Regions from separate parts of the Homo sapiens genome. Here all the other regions are linked to region 1. The links are contacts of gene promoters, found by promoter capture Hi-C in blood cells and fetal thymus (Javierre and others, 2016). All regions are on one chromosome and are shown on one strand. Each heading gives the region's core, a stretch centred on a gene start or on the middle of the fragment in contact. The rest is flanking DNA. Distances are from core to core; before and after follow the strand shown.

Evidence for each region. Contacts are between HindIII fragments. The CHiCAGO score rates a contact against its expected background, and 5 or more counts as called.
Region 2: a contact is called between a fragment that was not itself captured here and the fragment with the promoter of ANKRD13C in region 1, in 1 of 17 cell types (total B cells). The highest score is 5.6, in total B cells.
Region 3: a contact is called between a fragment that was not itself captured here and the fragment with the promoter of ANKRD13C in region 1, in 6 of 17 cell types (naive CD4 T cells, fetal thymus, total CD4 T cells and 3 more). The highest score is 7.2, in naive CD4 T cells.

The regions. Positions count from the first base shown.
Region 1 is chr1:70,353,461-70,355,975 of GRCh38, forward strand. It overlaps ANKRD13C (ankyrin repeat domain 13C), which reads right to left and starts at 1,262. Exons shown (of 13, transcript NM_030816.5): 1 at 519-1,262. The coding sequence starts at 948. ANKRD13C-DT (ANKRD13C divergent transcript) reads left to right here and starts at 1,351. Exons shown (of 4, transcript NR_168352.1): 1 at 1,351-1,748. RefSeq lists enhancers at 1-868, 128-1,046, 1,002-1,051, 1,047-1,964, 1,092-1,151 and 3 more. The HindIII fragment of the contact is 4,699 bases long and covers 802-2,515 here.
Region 2 is chr1:71,087,283-71,089,797 of GRCh38, forward strand. The region is part of intron 1 of ZRANB2-DT (ZRANB2 divergent transcript); the gene reads left to right. LOC105378795 (a long non-coding RNA gene) reads right to left here and starts at 1,674. Exons shown (of 3, transcript XR_001737669.2): 1 at 1,526-1,674. The HindIII fragment of the contact is 2,012 bases long and covers 250-2,261 here.
Region 3 is chr1:71,070,387-71,072,901 of GRCh38, forward strand. It overlaps ZRANB2 (zinc finger RANBP2-type containing 2), which reads right to left. Exons shown (of 10, transcript NM_203350.3): 5 at 2,086-2,162; 6 at 1,735-1,869; 7 at 441-610. Among named protein-coding and RNA genes, the nearest start is that of MIR186, 3.9 kb to the left of the region's middle. The HindIII fragment of the contact is 3,187 bases long and covers 1-2,515 here.

The DNA.
Region 1 (2,515 bases), core at 12-2,511:
GAAATCTAACATTCTAAGTTTACTGAAAGCAGACAAAAAAGAAACAACCTGGTGGCAGGCAAAATCACAACCAGTTGCAGTCAAGATGGGATCTGTATGTGAGCAATGAAGGGAGGAGGGCAATTTATGCGTTCAAAATTTAAAATGCCAAGGTAGGGGGAAGAGAGAGAAATAAAGATATATAGCTCCATAAACAAAGGGAGAAAACCATGTTGGGTGGGAGGCAACCTAAAATTTCTGACAGTCCAGAATCAGCAAATCGAAGGCCTGTCTCAAACAAAACAGCTTCTCACGACAAACTTTGAAGTGGGCAAGGAGGATACATTCCTTTGCACCCACAAGAACCAACCCCTTGACCACTGGCACGCTATTACTGAGTCGATCATGATTTACCGAACGGCCCGGATGATGGGCAAAAAGAAGAGTCTGCTGGAGGGGGCCTAGGATTCCAGAAGCCTGGGGAGGCACACCCTAGGCTCGGGGAAGGAGAGAGGTGGAGAGGGGCTAGCACTCCTCACCGTGATTATCTTTCTGCCCGATATTGTGCGTGCGGATGAGAGAGGAGAGTCTCCTCACATCCCCCTTGAAGACGCACTCGTGCACCGGGTAGTGTGCGGGGCAACTGCCTCCATCCGCGACGACAGCAACGGGGTTGGTGCCGGCCAGAAGGGCCGGGGACTGGGAGTTGGCAGTCACGGAGGAATTGTGCAGCGGCAGAGCCGGGGCGCCGGGGGGATTGGAGGAGGCCGGAGCTGCCTTCAGCTGTAGCCGGTGGTGATGGTTACTGAAGATCTTATGACAAGCTTTGCCGCCCTTGCCAATCCTGCTTCTGGTAAAGGTACCGCCGAGGGCAGCCGCCGCTTCCTCATCCCCGGGCTCCAGCAGGTCCCCTTCTTCTTTGCTGGGCTTGTGGTCCCTCCGCAGTGAGCGGATCTTCTCCCCGGTCATCGCCGCCGCCAGGGGCAAGGGGGGGAATCGGGAGGCTCACCGCTGGCGACGGAGCTGGCGCTGCGGCGGCACAAGGCGATTAGAGCGGTGGCCAAGAGCCTCCAGCGCAGCATGAACTCCCACTGAGCCCCCGAGCCTGGGACAAACGCATCTCCCGGGGAAGAGCCGGCTCTCGCCTAGGCACGAAGGGACGCGCGCTCGCTGGGGGAAGCTAGAACTCAGGTGCCCACGACACCAGGATCTCAGTCTCGCCGTCGCAGCCGCCGTCGCTGCCTTACACCGAAAAACAGGGCACGGCCATCTTCCTCTTGCTCCTCTCGCGAGAGCTCCCCCAGGAGTGAAGAGAGAGAAAACACCGCGATAAGTGAGCCACCCGCTCCCTCCCTCGCACCTTCTATTCCCAGAATCACTAGGCGCCGGCGCCTCCGAGGCAGTGTGTTTCCGCCCAGAGCTGGAGTCTCCCAGCTGCCAGCCGACCCCGAACCCGCACTCCCGCCAACCGCGCTTTTTGTGGGCGGTCGGAAACCACAGCCTCCGTTGGATATGTTCGGTGCATGTTATAAACAACCACTTAAACCCTCCGGATCTGAGCCTCCCGCAGAGGAATGCAGAATGACGCCACGGCACGCAGGATGTGATGTCACCGAGATGCAGAGGATACTCAGTCAACCAACATTTACTGAGCATCTACTTCGTGCCGTATGTACGAAGCTAGCAAATATGTACAGCACCAGTACTGATTGCAGGGAGCACTGTAGAAGAGGAATGAAGGCCAAACAATTAAAAGCGGAGGCGGGGAGGTGGGTTGCACACAAAAAAGGGAGGGACGAATTTTAGTGTTGAGTTGTCAGGAAAGTCATAGAAGAGTTTAGGTGCTGACTTTGGAAAATGATGGGCTGTCCAGCAATCGGAAAGAGGGGAGGCCACTCAAATATTTATTAGATGAATGAATTTCGGGCAGATGTCAGAGTTAACATATATGAGGGTGGGGACACTCAAGGAGGGCAAAGAATCGTGTAACTGAAATATAATTGTATTAGTTCATGGCCAACCTCAACCTAGTGTCAAACTCTGAAGAAACGTAAATCTGCCAACCATAAAACTTTAACAAAGTAACTAAAGCTGGCCACTGAGGACGTAAGGAGGGGGCTTAGCAAAACATCCTAAAGATCTTCACCCATTTAACTCTCCAAAGTCCCCCTATGTTCTGAGAGCAAATACTTCAGATCTCTCTCTCTTTTTTTTGTTTTTTTGTTTTTTTGACAGAGTCTCTGTAGTCCAGGCTAGAGTGCAGTGGTGCAATCTCGGCTCACTGCGACCTCCACCTCCCAGGTCCAAGCGATTCTCCTGCCTCAGCCTCCAGAGTAGCTGGGATTATAGGCCTGCGCCACCACACCAAGCTAATTGTTGTATTTTTAGTAGAGACGGGGTTTCACCGTGTTGGCCAGGCTGGTCTTGAACCCCTGACCTCAGTGATCCGCCAGCCTCAGCCTCCCAAAGTGCTGGGATTACAGGCATGAGCCACTGCGCCCGGCCAGATCTCTTCTTTCTTAAAGTTTATACTACT
Region 2 (2,515 bases), core at 6-2,505, 730 kb after region 1:
GGAGGCACTCCTGTGGGACAAGGGGAGTAAAGGGTAGTGCCCACAGAAAAGAAAAAGCAGTTGGTTCTTGTATTGGTTTTCTAGTGCCAAGTAACAAATTACCACAACCTTAGAAGCTTAAAGTAACATGTATTTGTTATCTCTCAGTTTCTGTGGATGAGAAGTCTGGGCATAGCTTAATTGGATTATCTGCTTAGGGTTTCACTAGGCAGCAATCAAGGTGCCAAGTGGAGCTGCAATTTCATCTGAAGCTTTTAGGCATATTCAGGTTGTTAGTGGAATTTAGTTCCCTGAAACTTTACATCAGAGGTCCCTATTTTCTTGGGAGATGTTGGCCAGGGGGTTCTCTCAGCTTCTAGAGACTGCCCTCAGGTCCTAATTACATGGCCATCTCAAAACGGAGTTTACTTCTCCAAAGCCAGCAGGAGAATTTCTCTCCAGTTGGCTGCTGCTGCTGCCACTACCATTACTACTATATACTACTACTATAACTATTACTGCTATAAAGTCTTATATAATATAATGTAATCAGAGGAGAAATGGTTCCGTCCCCTTTGCCATATAACATAAACTAATCAAAGGAGTGCCATCTCATTGTATTCACAGGTCCTGCCCACACTCACAGAGAGGGTATAATACAGGGCATGTACACCAGGACACAGAAATCTTGGGAGCCATCTTGAAATTCTGCCAACCATGGCTTCTGAATAGGCAAATACTCCAAAGGCCACTACAGTTGTTGCTTTCTCAAATCATTGAGACATCCTTCTTAAACTGATGGTCTATATTTTTCTCTTTAACTTTATTTTAAGAATGGCATAGTTTATGGGATGTGTGTGAGTATTCATGGACACTCAAGTCTCACATACCCCAAATATACATCTCTAAGAATATTTTGTCACACAGATTTCTTTCAAATTTAAAATAAATGTGCTGAAAGAAATGACAAGACGTTATTAAACATTGTTTACTTAGTACGTGTTATGATTTGACATTCTTAGAAATTCACTACATTAAAAAATGTGAATACATGTGCGCACACACACACACACACACACACAACAACAACTCTCCTACAACTTAAATGCTCTTTTCATTCTGTAGAAACCATTAATAGGGAATTTTTGCCAGTTGGTGTTTCAGAGTCCTTTATAAATTAATTATAGTATTTACCAGCCATGTGGGAGTGAGAAGTCTAATTAGGTCAAGGAGGCTGGCCCTGCTGGAGACTGAGGGCAAAAGCATATATACGGTGTCAGTCACAAATCTACTGCAGTTCTTTCTTGAGCACGTATGTTTAAATAAAAAACTGGAACAATTCAAATGCTACATACAAAGTTATGAGAAAAATCATATCACAATTAGAATAAAAGCAGGTTGAAGTTTGCCATCTATCTATAGCAAAAATAAAATGTTTTTACTGACGAAGGATTTCACACACCTGTGCCATGCCACAGCAGGTATGGCATGTTCAATTCTGACAACACACTCATTTATTTATTTGTCCATTCATTCATTGACTTACCCACTCAACAGGTACAGGACTAGATATTGCAGCTATAAAGAAGATTATGTCACAGTCTCTTTGTTTAAGGAGCGCACAGAGTGCCGATGCATATGGATGTGTAAATAGTGAGAAAACTGTGTTGTAAGTATAGTATAGGTATAATCAGAGGATATTATGGGTGTTCCCAGGAAGAATGACTCCCTCAGTTCATGGGTGGGGAAGGGAAATGCATTAAGGATACTTCATCACAAGTAACAGAAACCAAAGCTGGTTAAACTTTATCCTTAAAGGACTGGGATAAGAGCGAGGCAAATAACACAAACAGGGCATGACATTTAAGGAGGCAGTCTCAGGTGCTGAGCCTGGAGTTATCACTTGAGAATGAGCGCCTCCTTAAATGTTGAACCCTAGGCATCTGGCTCACCCTAGTCCCCATCCTGTTATTCCTTCAGTCTTACCTTCTTCAAAAACTCTCATCCCCCACAGTGAAAAACAGTTGAAAAACTGTTTACATCCTAGTGTAAATAACTAAAAACAGTTTAAAGTGTCCTTTTTTTTTTTTTTTTTTGAGACGGAGTCTGGCTGGAGTGCAATGGCACGATCTCGGCTCACTGCAACCTCCACCTCTCCACCTCCTGGGGTCAAGCGATTCTTCTGCTTCAGCCTCCCGAGTAACTGGGGTTATAGGCATGCACCGCTACTCCCAGCTAATTTTTGTATTTTTAGTAGAGATGGGGTTTCACCACGTTGGCCAAGCTTGTCTGGAACTCCTGATCTCAAGCGATGCACTCATCTTGGCCTCCCAAAGTGCTAGGATTACAGGCGTGAGCCACCGCACCCTGCCTAAAGTTTACATTCTTATAAAGGGATTTTCAGTTAAATCAAGTATTAAACCATGAAAGAAAAACTCAAATGTTTACAGGGTTCAGGCAGTAACATAAATCAATGATGCAGGCCTGTGTAAAACACTAGGGAATGAGGGAAAATGTGATGAGCTGTTCAAAGCCT
Region 3 (2,515 bases), core at 7-2,506, 720 kb after region 1:
ATACTGATATCAAAGCAAACTATTAAAAACATTATGTAATAAGCAATGATTTAATGCCTAGAAAATTTCTGTGCTAGCCTTTAACATCTTGAATGAAAATACAGATCTCCCCTTTACTTAATTTCTATATGTAAGCTATCTCTTTAGATTAATTAAATATAAGTGTATATAAAAATTTAATTCAGTTTTTAAGTCTATTTTAGTCAAAAGCATGAGGCTAAAATAGGTTAAGGAAGTTTCATGCTAAGACTTTACTTTTCTAAAAATACTGGACAACAACTGTATGGTACTAAGCTGAAAAATTATTTTAAAAGTTGATTTGAATTAAATTTTTAAAATAAAAAGGAAAGTTTATTTCGTCAAGAAAAACAAAATTTATAAATAAAAAAGTTAGATACTGACATTTTGACTGGTGTTACCCTTGACCTGTACCCGTTTACCTGGACCTAGACCTTGAACTTGAGGGGGAGGATGAGCGTGATGAAGATCGTGAATGTGAAGATCGAGACTTTGAGCGACTTCGTCTATTAGATTTCTTTTTATTACTATCTTCTTCTTCACTGGCATCAAGATTATATTTTGAGAGATCAGCGTCATCTTCATCCTCATCCTAACAAAAATTCAATTATAATTAGACATTTAGATATTAGTGTTACCTACCAGGAAAGATAAAACAGTTAGGTGTACTGAGCACCTCCATATGCATATATCACAGGTATCTCAGCAAATTAATTCTGAATTCTAAAATTCACCTACTAAACTCATCTCAAATAGAGACTTGACAACTTTGTCTCAGGTATTGCACAGACATAAACCTGGAGGCCATACACACTTTTTCTGTCACACTTATGCATCACCCAAGAATTTTCAAGTCCACCTCCTTAAAAGTCCTTGAAATCACCATTTTTAGTCTTAGACACTCTGTTCCTTATTCTCTAGCATATTATAGTAACCTCTTAGCTGGTCTCCTCAAATCTGAAGATCCATTCTGCCTCTCTAGTATCTCAATATACTGACAGTCATCACTCTGAAACACAGGACAGATAAACACATCTCACTTTTTTCTTAAAAACTTCAAAACTGGCTTATTATTTCTTTAGTTGCATTCCAAGACCTCTTATGATCAGGCTCTAAGGTACCCTTAACATGGCATAAAACTTACACTCTGGCCTGACAGAACAAGTATCACCAGACCTGAAATGTGTGCTGTCCCCCTCATCTCATTCTCCCCTCTGCTCTAACTATACTGGCCTATGTATGGTATTTTTGAAGGCTGCTGGCTTATCTCCTATTTAGGGAACCCGTATTTGCTGTTCTCTGCCTAAATGTGCTCTCACCTCGGCTCTTATTGCTGGCTCCTTCCTATCATTCAAGTTTCAGCTCAAACTTCACCTCCTTAGACATTATCCATCGGCAAAACCAAAGTTGCTTTTAAACTGTTATCACATCATGTGTCTTCATAACGTTACTGCTATCAAAATTACCTATTTATATATTTCCTCCTCTAGAACTGTGTAAGAGAAAACTGGTTCTGTTTCGGTCACCACTGTATCTCCAGAACAGTAGTGTTCCAAGTACAAATAGTACTTGGCAGAGTGGAAATCCAAAACCTTTGTGAGAACAAATGAAAACACAGAATATATTTTCACCAAGTGTCTGAGGCTGTCAAAAGCATTCATGTTATGGTATAACTCCAATAAGACAAAAGGGAAATAGGACAAGAAAATTGTTCACCTCATCTAACTTATATTTAGAAAGATCTTCATCCTCATCCTCTTCTTCTCCCTCTGATTCTTTATCTTCAACTTCCTTTAATATAGATGCAGGACCAACTGCTTTCCCTCTGTATTTTTTCTTTTTACGTCCAAACTAGAGAAAAACAATTTCAAAATGCTTGTCAGCTGATAATGCATTAAACTTAATACATTTTCTAAAAAATTATTTTAGATATTTATGATTTCCTGAAAATGATCAGTTGCTGAAGACTCAAATTGCACTTAAAAAAAAGTTTGTTTTCCTTTGCATTTAAGAATTTTTTCTGTTTTTCTAATTTATATTCAACCTGAACACCAAAATATAGCTTACCTCATCATATTCACCATCAGATTCTTCTCTTTCTATATATTCAACATTTTCTCTTTCATTAAAACCACCACCATATCCTTAAAAAAGAGGGCACAAATTGTTACCCTATGACAATTGATTTAAATAATAAACACATCATGCCCAAATCTCCAGACAACAAAAAACATCTAATCAACAATGGCTGCCTACCCATCTAATAAATTACTAGTCTTTAGAAAGCATATTAGAAATCACCACAGAAAATACAGAGAACTTAGTTGTAACGTCATATGGCTGTACTTCTAGCTCTTTTCAATTCCAAATTGCCCTACATGACTTATTTAATTCATAGAAAGTATTGGTGGAAAACATCTCAAACTTCTGCTATAACCAAGTTTTAAAGGACTTTCCTCTACAGTTAATCGTAATTCTTCTGGGAAGGGTGGGCTCA